Regions from separate parts of the Homo sapiens genome. Here region 2 is linked to region 1. The links are contacts of gene promoters, found by promoter capture Hi-C in human tissues and cell types (Jung and others, 2019). All regions are on one chromosome and are shown on one strand. The core of a region is centred on a gene start or on the middle of the fragment in contact, and the rest is flanking DNA. Distances in the headings are between cores, read along the strand shown. Region 1 holds the start of CNTN4 (contactin 4). Region 2 has its middle 45 kb from the start of CNTN4.

Region 1 (7,069 bases), core at 1,888-4,387:
AATCTATTTGTTACAGAAGATATAGAAGTGTAGCAGTTTTACAACTGGCTAGAGTATCAGAGATGATGAACAGCAGAGCAGAGATAAGGAGAGAAAGATTTTAAAAATATCAAACCAGCAGTGATCTTTAAAGTGTGCTACACACCCCAGGGGCTGTACAAAATGATCCACCGGGATACATAACAGCAACATGAGACCTTCTATTTCATAATTTTTGCTTTATTCATCTTTTTTGTTTCTTTGTGTGTTTTATAAGTAGTGTATCATATAACAGCATGTCTTCAGTTTATAAATAAATTTTATTGATATGTTGTCAGATTTCTTCTGATAGTAAATAATAATAATAATGAAGATCAATAAATCTAGGCAGTAAATCCTGCCTCCTTGCCTCCTTCACTAGGCTTAAAACATAGCATTACAGGGAAAAATGAACAAAAAGGAACAAAAAAAATCAGTGTGTAGAGACTTCCCCCTGCCTATCATATGAAATAGACTTATTCAACTAAAATAATATAAAAGCAAGTTTTTACAAAATATTAATTTTTAAGATAAGAGAGATTGAAGCTAATGCATATTATGTCTGTCCTCAAATATAACAAAGAAGAAACAACAAGTTAAAATCATGATCAGACAAACTTGTAGAAAAGTCAGTACCATGCATGGGAATTTTCTGCTGAGCAGCTTTATTTTTTTAAGACCTAAATTGAAGGAACGGATGCCCTGTATACATTTCAGAAGAAAAACTGCAGCCAAAAGATTTAGTGCTTAGATCGGAAAAGAAATCAGAAGACCTACTTTTGAACAAAAAGGAGAGAGAAGTAGGTAAAATAAGTGAATGATAAAAAATCCAACATCATTTGAAAGGTTTGTTCTCTAATCACTCTTAATTACCTGCCAATATGAAATGACCATGGAAAAAGGTACTGCATTGACTCCCAATTGACTTGAAAAGTTTTACAACTCAAAGAAACTGAAAAGTGTTGTTTAAAAAACTGCAAATAGGAAAATCTACCTCTGTTGAAACTTACATGTGGCTCTGACATGCACCCTTATCCAAGTCACTTCTCTTAGACTCTTAGTCTTTAATTGAAAAGGTCAGTTTTTCCATCCTTGCCAGCTACCTCCCAGGGTTCAGATGGAAAAATAATGACGTTTATCAGCATCATCTCTCCTCAACAAGACAGAGCAGTTGAAACCAGCTTCAACAAACAAATCAATAGCTATTTTATAAGGTAGCAAAAATAATATTCTCATGAAACTTGTTTTTGATCCTTAGCAATCTTACCTACTCCTGCGACCCACTGCAGATATTCCCACAAAATCTTTAAAGAAATCAAGATAAAAATAGCAAGAATAAACTTACGGGTAACGTGAATTTTCTCATGAATGCCACCCAAATCACCTCCAGGTGCCTGTCTTCATGACACACTGTTCTTTTTCACCCACTTGGGTAGAGAGAGAGAAAGAGAGAACAAACTTGCTATTAGGCAGACTTGGGAACGCTATTGTATGGACCTGCTCATAGGCAACCTATACAGTCTTTACGCTCCTACCCCACTCTCTAAAGGACATAAACCAGAAATCTCAAAAAACAAAAAAATACAAGCGCGTTCCAAATTATCTTGTGTGGGTATCCAAACGACTCAGTTATGTGGAGTTACTCCTTGAACTATCCAGCTCCCACTACAGAAAATTGAAAGAGCTTCCCATGCAGTTAAATGCCACTGTTATTCTGACAAACATGTGCCCGCCCCTATGTTGATTCCAGCAGGAAAACTAGAAAAAGTTCCACGACATTCCTTTCAGGAACTCCTCTTACAAATAAACCTCCAACACACCTCAAGATCCGGCCCACTCTCCTCCACGCAGACCACACACCCAGGGTGCTCAGTCACACTGACTCGCCCTACACAACCTCCGCCAGCTTCTTCGCACCGAATCTGCAGACCCTGGCCAGCAAGCAACCGCCTGATCTTCCCGACGCGCGAAGCCGCCTCCTCGCAGGAGCTTCGCTGCGAAATGTTTCCATGCAGCCGACTCTCTGGCTGGTTCAGAGGGATTCAGGAGCCCACGTCCTCCTACCCTCACCTCCACACCCTTCATAAATAGTAAAACATATACACGAAGCACAAGAGAGAAAATGCACGAAGATTTTGAGCCCCGCGTTCCAGAAGGAGAGTGAGTGGATTGGGGTCTGTGGGGCGCCCGGCGCACAGTTCGCCGCCGTCTGGGCCCGGGGAGGGGACGGGGCGGTTGTCTTGCCTCTCGAAAGAAACTGGAAACCCCCCAGAAGTTGCTGGAAACGAATGCCACCCAACAGGCTCCCGCGGCAGAGACTGGGGAAGCCAGGTACCTTCCCTAAGAGCAGGCACCTGGCCTGTCGCTCGCCGCCGCAGCCTCAGCGCTCAGCAGCCAGCCCGGCACCCAGCGGGCGCCACAGACATCAGCCTCCGTCTCCACGCGGCTCCTTCCACCACGGCTACGGGCTCCTGTTCCTTTAGTCCCAGGTCCCTCCACTCCCCAGGTTCGCGTCCCTCTGCTGCGGGCTGTGACTGGGCTGTCAGAAGAAAAGCCCCGCCGGGAACCCGGCGCCAGAGGCCAGGGCGCACGGAGAGGGGGCAGTAGCCCGAACCAGTCGGAGGAGCTGACTTGAAGGCTTCCCGCAGCATTCCGGGCTCTCGGTTCCTTGTTTTGTGGCTGCCTCGCAGCGCAACAAACTTATTTTCCGGCTGAGAAGGAGAAGAAGGGTCGCTGTGGGGTGACGGTGGCGTCGTCGGGGCCCTGAGTCCTCCGCGCTCAGGCGTTCAGCTCCCGCTCCCCGACCCTGCAGGGCTTCCGGGCTCTGAGCTGGACGGCCCCGCAGACGCTGCCCGGCCCCGCGGGAGTCAGAGCCCCGGGAAGCGCCCCTGTCCTTCGGGCAACCCGCGCGGACCCTGCCCTTTCCCCCCCACACCCGCGACCGCGTCCCCGGGGCATCGCGCGCCCACGCAGGAGCCGGACCCGCACAGCTGCCGCCTCACTTACCTCAGCACCGGGGCGCCGGGCTGGCGAGAGCCTCGGGTGCGGCGCCGGCACAGTCCGAGGGGCCCGGGGCGGCGGCGAAAGCTCCCTACTTGCAGCCAATCCTGGCGTCGAACCCCGGGCTCCGTCTGGCGCGGCGCTGCCCTCCCTCCCGGCGCTCGCGGCGGCTGGAAAAACCTGGCGCGCCGGAGTTCGGGCTGCCGGCTCCTTAGCCGCGGGGCGGGGGAGACGCTCGGGGAAGGGGAGAGGCGCGGGCGGGTGGGAACGGGCGGGAGACGAGCGGGGACGGGGAGACGCGCCGGAGGCCCGGAGCCCGCGCATGCTCAGTGCGCGGCCGGAGGAGGCGAGCGCTGGGGACGCAGCACCTGCCCCGCGCGGCCGAGAGGCGGCAGCCCCAGGTCCCCAGCGCGCGAAATTAGTAAAGGGCGCCTGGCCCGATTCTCAGGCAAGAGGAGATTATCAGCCGGATTCCCGTGCGGGGACGTAGGGGTTGCGTTGTTCAGCGGCCAGGGATGCGCCGAGGCGATGTCTCCTCCCTTTACAACCCGAGTATCGGGGCACGAGGAGGCGCGACCTTCCTGGGTACCCAAACCTCTGGCCTCCGGGAGACGCGGAATTCGGGGGATCGTTAAGGCGCCCTGGCCAGGGAAACAGATGCTTCTGCGTCTGGGCTGAAAATTGCTGAACCGGGGAATGTGGGTGGGCGGGTGGCATTGAACTTAGGCCAGAAGAGGGGGCTTTGGTAGGTTTTTACCTGCCTGTCCTTAGGCGGAGGACACTGGCTGGACAGGCTGCGTTACACACCTGAAGTCTCATCCACGCAAAGTGCTTTCAGGTTGGAATGTGGGGCGGGGGCGGGGGGAGGTCAGAGGGAACAGTTGCTGTAAATTAGGTACAAGGATCAATTTGTGGTGTGTTGTGCGCGGGGGTGGGGCATGTCGAAAGCCTTGTTATTCGAAAGAATGTGCTTTGAACGACGTTGCCACGGTCATTCTACATTATGAATCTACTGTTTCCTTGCAGAAGTGGCTCCCTTCGCCGCAACTCCACACCTCGGGGTAACCGTAGAGATTGGCAGCAATGCCCCAGCCCCTCACCAGCACTGTGCAAAGTGACTTTGACAGGCAGAGAAAAGCCAACCCAGTCGAATTCGTCTGGAAAGCATTCCAGCAACCCAGAGAGGAGCCTCTGTTTCTCTCTCTGGGAAAAAGCCCCAAGGGTTTTGCTGAACCCAGGTCTTCCTGCTCATCTCTCAGCAGTTCAGAGCTACATAAACAACTTCTGACCATTTACGCAATCATGTAAACCTACCCTGACATCTCCACTATGTGGAAAAGATGTTAACTGGAAAACTATTTTTAAACTACTGCAGTAAGCAAATAAACATCCAACTCCAACATATATATGCAGCAGCCTTATTAGTTCATTCAGTGTTGGTTTGGTTTGTTTGTTTTGTCTTCTGCTTTTTAGAATTAATTATTATCTTTATAATTCCTGTTCGAGAAGTGGGCAAAACCAGGCTAGTGATAGGTATTGTTGTGGTCAAATTTTTCATCACTTGAAATTCCATGACTTTCATGATTGCTGAGATTAATGCTAAATAAAGAAGTTACCCCCCCGCCCCCACCCCACCCCAACCTCCCCACCAAAGTTTCCTGATTACTTAAACTTGGAGAGAAATTTTCAGGCTTTTTCCTCCCTCCTTGCCTGGTATGTGTCTGTAATAGAGGTACTTTTGCAAAACTGGAATGTTGGTGATGCAGGTGTTTTCCATGGTAAACAGCCACTGAGGATCAATGGTTCCCAGGTTCCCACTCACTTTGAAGGCTTTTGTGCTTCTGCCGGAACTGTGACTTTTACTACCTGTACTATGTATGATTTTTTTTTACATTGATTATTTCTCTGCAACTAGTCAATTAAAAGTACATATATATAACTTTTAGTAAGACTGTTTATCAAAATATGCTTCACCAGAAGTTCTCCAGAAAATATTCCTGTGTAGTCATGCATACTCCTAACACATTAAAGGGAAATGTCGTGTTTTAGACTGGACACAGAATTTCAGAAAAGAACAAAGAATAAAATATGCTGTCACATTCTCCCACTGGGACTATACATTGAAGCAATTTTCAAAGTTTTATGACAATTTCAGGCAAAGTCCCTTAACTGTGTTTCTAAATTTCAAATGTACATATTTTGTTTCCATTCTCCCCTTTGGCCCTTATTCTGTGCCTGCTATATGCTAGGCATTGTCTTCTAGTAGATTCTGGGAAACAAACTAAACATGACCAAGACTTGCTCCACAGTTCACCATGTAGTTAGGAAAACAGACATTGTGTATCTGGAGAGACAGATTTGGGTCGTGTTGAGGGGATATCAGTTAAACGTTAAGTTAGGAGGAGGCATTTTTTCTTTTCACCAACACACCCCCACACTGATCCAGTGCTAAGCTTGTTCAGTCCCTCCCCAACATTTTCTCTAGAACAGCAGCTAGTTTAAAATGCAGCCAATAATCCAGTCCCTTTTTTCCATCCTGCAGCAAAGAAGCGATGCTCAGCTGCCACCTCTGCCAAGATAGAAAGCCTCTTGCGGAAGCTCCCAGGATTGGGGAGTGTTCCTAATAGACTCAACCCCTGTCAGGGGACAGAAATGGTTTATTTTGATGACAACAGCCTCACACGTGTGTCTCTACATATCCAGGACCCCGACTGCGTGTCCGTTTCTTGATCAGGGGACCTGTGATTGGGATTCTCTGGAGGGGAATGTTCCAAACGAATCAATTAACGCCCCCAGCAGCAAGTTCAATACCACTGCACTGAGACCCAGCTCTGTATCATTGCATGAATGAATTACTGGTGCTCATGTAATTTGCAAATAATCATCATTCTAACACAGTGGAAAATTTCTCCTGCCCGTTTAGCCTGAGTAGCAGCTGAGCAGAGAGCTGCAATAACCCTCACAACACCCTCCAAAATAACTATTTACACATATGTGAAGTTTTACATCCAGGTCTTTTAATATGGGAGTATCTACATAGACACAAGGTCACCTCTTACACTCATTAAACCAATTGAATGAGGACTGATAACTCTTAAGGGAAATCAACGCTGAAACCGCTTTTGACTTTTTGGAGACATGAATGGAATACATCATCAGGTTTTACTCAGCATGCAACCGTTGTGCAAACTCCAGAAAGGGCATCTCTCTGTCCCACTCCCCCATTACCCCTGCCTTATTCCTTCTCTACACATCTGAAGATTTGATAAGTGGGGATTTACTGTAAGAGGAGGAAAGAGGAAAAGCATCACAGGAAAAGAAATACCTCTTTTCTGACCACATCTGATTTGATGCTATTTTCTCCTTACTCCTGGCATCCAGTGGGATTTTAAAAAACTCATATATGCCACCTTTCTTTGTTCTAAATGACTTGAATAAGGTCGTTCAATGGCAGGAGCGACTCAATCAGATAAAAATGTGCAGGTTTTATAATTACGGTTTTACTTGTTTAATGTATAGCTACCTGAATAGATCTTCAAGCATAAAGTAGCAATTATCCCATCCCTGATTTTAAAATATAAACTCAAGTTTGCTTTAATTAAGTAGATAAATCAGTATTTAAATAAACAATTGTATCAAGAAGAGCTTTGTGTTCAGTTTCGAACTGGAGTATAATAAAGTAGAACTCAGCTAAGGACTTTCAAACCAGCCTTGCAAAGCTTCCTTCTATGCAATTGTTTTAGGTGACTGATTGACACTTAAGCTTTAAACTAAGGACATTGGACTAATAATGGGCCCATACTGGGATAATGATAATTAGCACACAAAAGCACAGTTAATTGCCATGAAGGTTGGACACAGACTGACAGATAGAGTCAAAGTAAACTAGAAACCTGACACCCCAGCCAAGATTCCTTTATAAACGTGGCTGTGAGACACCCACTGAATTTAAACATAATAAGGTGGAATTAGGGACCAATCAACTGTTTTCTTAGCCACACGTTTTCCAGATTTTTTTGGATTCTTTATACAAAATCCAAAAATAATTGTT
Region 2 (7,069 bases), core at 1,301-3,800, 45 kb after region 1:
CTCTGAGCTATTCTTTTTATTCTCTACTAAATGGGACCATTAGCTTCTGGACAGGGAAAATAATGGTATGTTCATTTCACATGTCCGATAACATCTTGCTCCCAGTAATGATAAGGAAGCAATGTACATTAGCACATTTGACTACATAAGCCAGGAGAGCAGAATATCTGAGTGAGTTAGGCTCCTTCTAAGAGACATTAGAGAGCAGTGGTGATTATGGTAAATTGGAGAGTAAATACTAACCTAAGACATGTAAACGGTACTTAGATCCAGCTGACTGTGATCATATGAAAATGTGAAGCAAGAGCTTCTAGATCTTCTAATTTTTTGTTTTATACGAGGAGCCAGAAATCTGGTATTTTATGTGAAGTCTGCTGATTATTCAATTTTGGGAGATAATTAAATGCATCAAAATGTGAGCTACATAATATACATTTGACTATGGCCAAGTATGGTACATAGGTCACGACTTTACAGATATCTGATTTCTTTGTATTTTAATCACTCAGTTGTGTGATTTATTTTTGCAACTCTCATAAGTCTTTAATTGATTCTCAATCCTACTTTGACATTTATCAAGAGTTGTTGGTTGTACTTACACTAATAACCTATGCCTTCGAATTAACATTGAGTTCTTAAAATCTAATGACTGTTTCTTCATCTATATAGAGGGAATGATAATAGGACCTACTTCAATGATTATCTTTTGTGTTAAATTAGTTAATGTATGCCAGCTCCTGATACTTTGTAAGTAGTAAATGTATTTACTATCATTGTAAGTCTGTGTTAGAGTACCCAACACATCTCTCCAAAGATTGTCACAAAGGAGATGCTTTGAAAATATGAGTTGATTGATTGATTGATCAATAAGTTTATGACAACAAATATCCATTAAAGAACTTTTCTCACCCTTTGCCACTTGGACATGACCTAGCATTAGGAGGATATGATTGAGAATAATTAGATTTTAGTTTAAGCCTCTGATAGCATGTGAAAGCTTAATTCTTGAAATAATTATAGTATAAACATTTTTACAATAAATAAAATATGTCTAAATAGCTTCATAAATATTTAAACAGCTAATCCACAAATCCACCTGTGCTCTCCAGGCAGCATAGTTTGAAAGCAGGAGCATTTTTTTAGCAGCATGAACACCATTAGTGCACATTATTTATACAAATGTAACCCTTTTCTCAGGTCACCCAAGCCACTCCCCATTTAGAGGGAAGCTCAGTGGTCAGATTTACAAAACATACAACTCTTTCCTCCCTGGATCTGTAGCTCAAATGACTGAAGGACAAACCTAGGAAGTTATCCTTATGCAGGGATAATATAAATGATGAGTAGAAATATTGTTTGAAGAAATAGGCTACTGAACAATGATAGAGTTGTTTTAGGTATTAAGAGAATCATTTCCCCCCTTTGTGGATCAGCTTCGTTAACTTTAACATACATGGATTTGACTCAATGATATTTCTTTTCTAGTTTCAAAATCTGTGATTAGAATATTAATAGCTGATACATGTAACTGTAGAAACATAGTTTTTTTTTTCTTTTTTCAGTTTCACTGGAATAAAAGAATGTTCTAGTCATTTTGCTGAAGTGCATGTTCCTTTTCTTCAAGGAGTTTAACATTTATTATATGACTGTCTAAATATGAGGAACTATCACACAGGAAGGAGATGAAAACATGAGGAGAATAATTAATAGAATGTAAAGCTCTTTGATATTTCTTCGGAGAAGACTTGTTATTAATGCTAAAATCTGAAGATATGAAGAAAGACTTCGTGGGTCAGGTTTACTTAGAAAAAAAGAAAGAAAAAATACAGCTTGAAAAAGGAGGTAACAGATTGAGTGGCTGAGGGCTCTGAAGAAGGAGCAAGTAATTTAGAGATCTAGAATACACGTTAGTTTGATTTGGGGGAAGAGTAGCAAGCAGATAATAATAAGAAAAAGAAACTCTGCTTAGGCACTTTTTATTCAAAGATGGACCAGGCAGAACAGTGTGACAAGGCACTGAATTCTTTAGAACAATTCACGCCCACAGTCCAGTGGCTACTTCGTTTTTCAGGTCAGGAGAGACTGGTTTCTCTCTGTTTCCTTCTCTGTAGAAGTCATGTGAGGAGTTTAAGCCCACTTTTCACACACCAAGAAAACATGAAAATGTGGGTGAACTTAGTATTTAAATTACTGATGTAAAAGCCAGTTTTCTTGTGAAAAAGCTATTAAAAAGACCAGGTCTTATGAAAATCTGCTCCTGGTTGCATAGAAATGTTTAAAAGGTACTCACAGGATTTTTCTAATATGATAGGGGCAGATAAGGTTTGTTGTCTATTAGAGAATCAGTAGAGTAATGAGAATGACATGATTTTATTTTATTCAGTTTCTTTACCTCATAATATACACACTGCAATTTGGAGAAAATAAAGTTAAATTTAGAAACAACGTACCCTATCATGAACATGGCACATAACATTAATATGTAGATGCATCTGTACATATACCTTACAAACCTCAAATGGCCAATAGCTCATGATCTCAAAGTTGTACTAGAGAAAATTATAAAAATATAAAGATAAATGGAAACAATAGTAGCTGGCTAATATACTCAGATTGTGACAAATGAAGTTGACAAACTGTAAGTGTTGGCAGCTGGCTTAGTCAGTTAGGGTTGTTATAACAGAATATCATAGACTTGGTGGCTTACAAACAACAGAGCTTTATTTCTCACTGTTTCACTGTTTGGGAGGCTGGGAAGTCCAAGAACAAGGTGCTGCAGATCTGGCGTTTGGTGAGGGACGCTTCCTGTTATCTCTACAGCTGTACTTTTACTGTGTCCTCACATGGTGGAAAGGGGAAGGGAGCTCTCTGTGGTCTCTTTTATAAGGGTACTATTCCCATTTATTAGCCACCCTTCCCCCAAGAGCTAACCACTTCCCACAGGCCCCACCTCCAAATACCATCAGCCATCATCTTGAAGATTAGTTTCAACATACAAATTTTGGGTGGGACACAAACATTCAGTCTATAGCAACTACCCAAAAAAAATAATTTAAGAGGCTGATCTAACTAATAGTGTATAAATAATGTTCAATTTCCTACAAATGTAAATATATCTTCTTTTTAAGAGCAGATGGAACATTCATAAAAATTAACCAAATATTACGCCAGAAGTAATTTCAATAAATTTATGAAAGTGAAAAAATACAGATAATATTCCCATGATGGTGCAGAAAATCTATGCATACAAACAAAATCAGTCCCCCACAAAAGATTCTTCCACTGAGGGATTTAAATGCTCTCTTTCGAACAGCTCTTAGTTCAAAGAGGAAAAACCAAAACTGGAGAATAAGATTTACAGAGAAAAATAAAAATAATATCTATCAGAACCCAAGGGACATAATGCTCTAAGGGAAACTCAAAACCTTAAAACTTATATTCATTTTTTTAAGAAAGAAAGAATAAGGACAAATAAATTAAGTGTCAGATGCAAAATAATTAGAAAAAATAAAATACACTAATAAAAGGTCTAAGTAAGGAATTTATAATAAAGATAAATGCAAAAATAAATTATTGTGAAAACTTAAAAACAGTAAAAGCAATATGCAAATAGATTTTGGGAGTAGAACAGTAAAATAAACGGTTGACTAATCACAAAAAGAAAAATGTGGGATGCTGTGGTGAGAGGATCACTTGAGCCCTGGCATTTGGGCAACATAGCTAGATTACATCTCTAAAAATAAATAATTTAAAAAGAGAGAAAAGAAAATTAATATTATTATTTGTATGAATACATTTAGACACCTGAATGAAATGTATAATTTTATAGGAAAATATAATTATCAAAACAGACTTTTAAAAAATAATTCAAATTAATCTATTTTCATTTAAGAAATATTGAATGCTATCAAGAAGATCCCACTCAAAAACCTCAGGCTCAGATGGTTACGTAGGGGGTTTAATCAAATTTTTAAATAATTGTAATGCTCTTTAATTTATTACAGCATGTAAAAAATAAAGGTACATTTACAAACTATCTTAAGGGACTGAGTGTATTATTGATATAAAAACCTGACAAAGATTGTACTAAACACAAGAATCTTATGTATTATTTTATTATTTATTAAAAATCTAAAATAAAATATTTATAACTCAAATTAAGCAGTTCTTGCAAATCATGCCACATTATAATCTAGTATGGGTTATTTCAGGAATGCAAGAATGGCTTAATATTAGGAACTTATTAGTATGATTCTGTTTGATAAGAAATCTATGGAAAAAATAATTTAATCACCTGTGCAGATGCTAAATAAGCATTTGAAAAATATTAAAAATTATTGTTGATAAGTGCACAACAACAAAAGTGATGGATTCCTCCTTCAACACAATGAAAAAGATTAGATTCCGCTAAAACATGATTATTTGATAATTACTTTGTGTGTAATTGATAAACATAATGACTACAATTTAATATGGAATTTGTATTAGTTTGTGTGGATTCTTTTTTTTTTAGATTTTTAATTTTTTGAAACAAGAAGGGGCAAGTTTTCTCACAACTAAAGAAAAGCTTTAGCCATATATGAAGAATATAATTTAAAAAATGAAGGTCTACAGAAGTATCTTTTCTTTGGGCACATAATTGCTGGTTTAGAGGCTTTAATACTTGCTATGCTTTCCTCTGTGTCAAGGTAACACAGCAGAGCTATAAGTGCTCTGTAGAGAAGTAGTGAAAATATTTCTTCTCTGTATAATCCTTGAAGGAATAATTGTGCTCTGATTCAGCCTTGAGGCCTGCCTCCCACTCCCACTTGGCAATAATCCTCATATTCTCTCTAAACAAAATGAACATACACATAGGGATAGTTAGAGAATTAATAGAAAATGGAAACAGAGTCTGGAAACTTTGGTTATTTACCAAACACTGAATCAAAAGCTTTTATATGCCAGGGAGGAATTCAGGAGCAAATCAATGCAGTGTACTGGTTCCACAACTTGCTCGTTGTATGGGGCTGCTAGATTTAGCAGATAGAAATACAGGATGCCCTGTTAAATTTGAATTTCAGATTAGCAAATTTTTTTTTAGTATAATTATATTTTGTATAATATTTGGGACACATGACCAGGATGACCTCAACATTCTCTAGCTTGACTAAACTTTAGTTTTCTTCCTGACTCTTGGCCCTTGACCTTCATTTTCTTAAGAGCATTTACTTTAGAAAGCTTGAAATTGCACATTAGTTTTCTACCCCTTTGATATATGAATCTTCTATATCCCAGAAATGTCGTTCTCAAGGACCTGAGAGCTATCCCTTTGAAATGTGATTATTAGGAAAGTTAGGGTCTATATCTCCCAGTCTCTGTGAGGGGGCAGAGGCCTAATTTTAATAAGCACCAATTAGCAAACACAAATGGCCTAGTCACATTGAACAACCTGCTCCCAGCATTCTCTAGTACCTTTCTGCTAGCTCACCCAGCAATTAAAAACTCTTCTTTTGTTTCATCCCAATTCTGTTCAGTCTCTTTTCCCTATTGAAATAGTCTCTCTCCCCATTGCAATAGTCATGAATAGTATTTCTTGCCTGTTTAAATGGTCCAGGGCAAATTTTCTTTTATGCATACTTATACTACATATTTGGGACATTATATTTAAAATTTATTTGTCATTTGTCTGAATTCTAATGTAGCTGTTTTTTTTTTTTTTTTTTTTGATGTTTTGTCGGACAACCCTATAGCTGGGATAACATGGGGTAATTTTGGGCAGGCCAGGAACCCTCTCTACATCACTGTTTCCTTATCTGCAAAATTATATGATCCTATTATTGCATATGGTTTGTTGGGATTAAATTATATACTCCCTACGAGTCTCTTAGCATAATCTTTGGCACACAGGAAACACATAATCAATGATTGCTGATGCTGTTCTTGTATTGATTACCAGGAAAAGAAGTTGACAATACCTGATGTGGCTTCTGTCTCATTAGCTTTCTTATCAAGATGATCAGTTCACAGAGTGGGTGCCTATTTCTCTCCCCTAAAGTAGCAGTTAATGAAGCAAATAAAAATTGTGTGTTTTAAAAAATTTATATTCACAAAATAGTTTTTGCCATCTCTTTCTTAAGCAGGCTCACAATTATTTAGCATCTGTGGCAGAGAGTTTCAGTTAACAGGAATGACAGATTAACTACTTCCTTTCAGGATAATAGGAATTATACCTGAAATATATGACTGTAACTGTACATTCCTGATCAATGCGCAATTCAACAACTGCAAACTACATCTTGGTTCTATGAAGGACCTAGCTTCATTCTCAGCCTTGCTTTTTCATCAGTCATTTTTCAACAACTTGTGTTGACTGAGGTAAGGGATGGCAAGGAAAGATTAAGCCCATTCTTTATCTAGTCATTGTGGTATAGATGTTTTACTCACTCCAAAGTAAAGTAATTGGTAACAGTTTGAATGTTTTGGAGCATTGACCTCTGCTATACTACTTATTTTAGAAAAGGAAAAGGCAAGTAGTGAACTGACCTAAAAGACTGAAGGGACCAAGAGAATGAGGACAAACAGGAATCATGCCTAGATAAAAAATAAATTGCTCCCACCTAGTTGAGAGTTGCACAAAACTTAGTCAGTACCTCCATGTGTGGACTCTGTACCTCAGTGGGAAGATACACACACATCTTAATAATGCTGGTGGTACTAAAACTATCTTAATATATTTCCAGTAGAATACCTACTAGTTTACAATTTCACATACTGTGTCAAGTTTTTTTTTTTTTTTTTTTTTTTTTTTTTGAGACGGAGTCTCGCTCTGTCGCCCAGGCTGGAGGGCGGTGGCGCGATCTCGGCTCACTGCAAGCTCCGCCTCCCGGGTTCACGCCATTCTCCTGCCTCAGCCTCCCGAGTAGCTGGGACTACAGGCGCCCGCCACTACGCCCGGCTAATTTTTTGTATTTTTAGTAGAGACGGGGTTTCACCGTGTTAGCCAGGATGGTCTCGATCTCCTGACCTCGTGATCCACCCGCCTCGGCCTCCCAAAGTGCTGGGATTACAGGCGTGAGCCACCGCGCCC

The links. Contacts are between HindIII fragments. The study calls those that stand out against the background at their distance.
Region 2: a contact is called between a fragment that was not itself captured here and the fragment with the promoter of CNTN4 in region 1, in 2 of the 25 tissues and cell types used here (aorta and neural progenitor cells).

The regions. Positions count from the first base shown.
Region 1 is chr3:2,094,934-2,102,002 of GRCh38, reverse strand. It overlaps CNTN4 (contactin 4), which reads right to left and starts at 3,137. Exons shown (of 25, transcript NM_175607.3): 1 at 3,025-3,137; 2 at 1,364-1,445. It overlaps LOC124909338 (a long non-coding RNA gene), which reads left to right and starts at 3,748. Exons shown (of 2, transcript XR_007095785.1): 1 at 3,748-3,856; 2 at 4,045-4,422. RefSeq lists an enhancer at 6,574-7,069. The HindIII fragment of the contact is 20,122 bases long and covers 1-6,104 here.
Region 2 is chr3:2,049,836-2,056,904 of GRCh38, reverse strand. No RefSeq gene overlaps it. Among named protein-coding and RNA genes, the nearest start is that of CNTN4, 45 kb to the left of the region's middle. The HindIII fragment of the contact is 5,054 bases long and covers 24-5,077 here.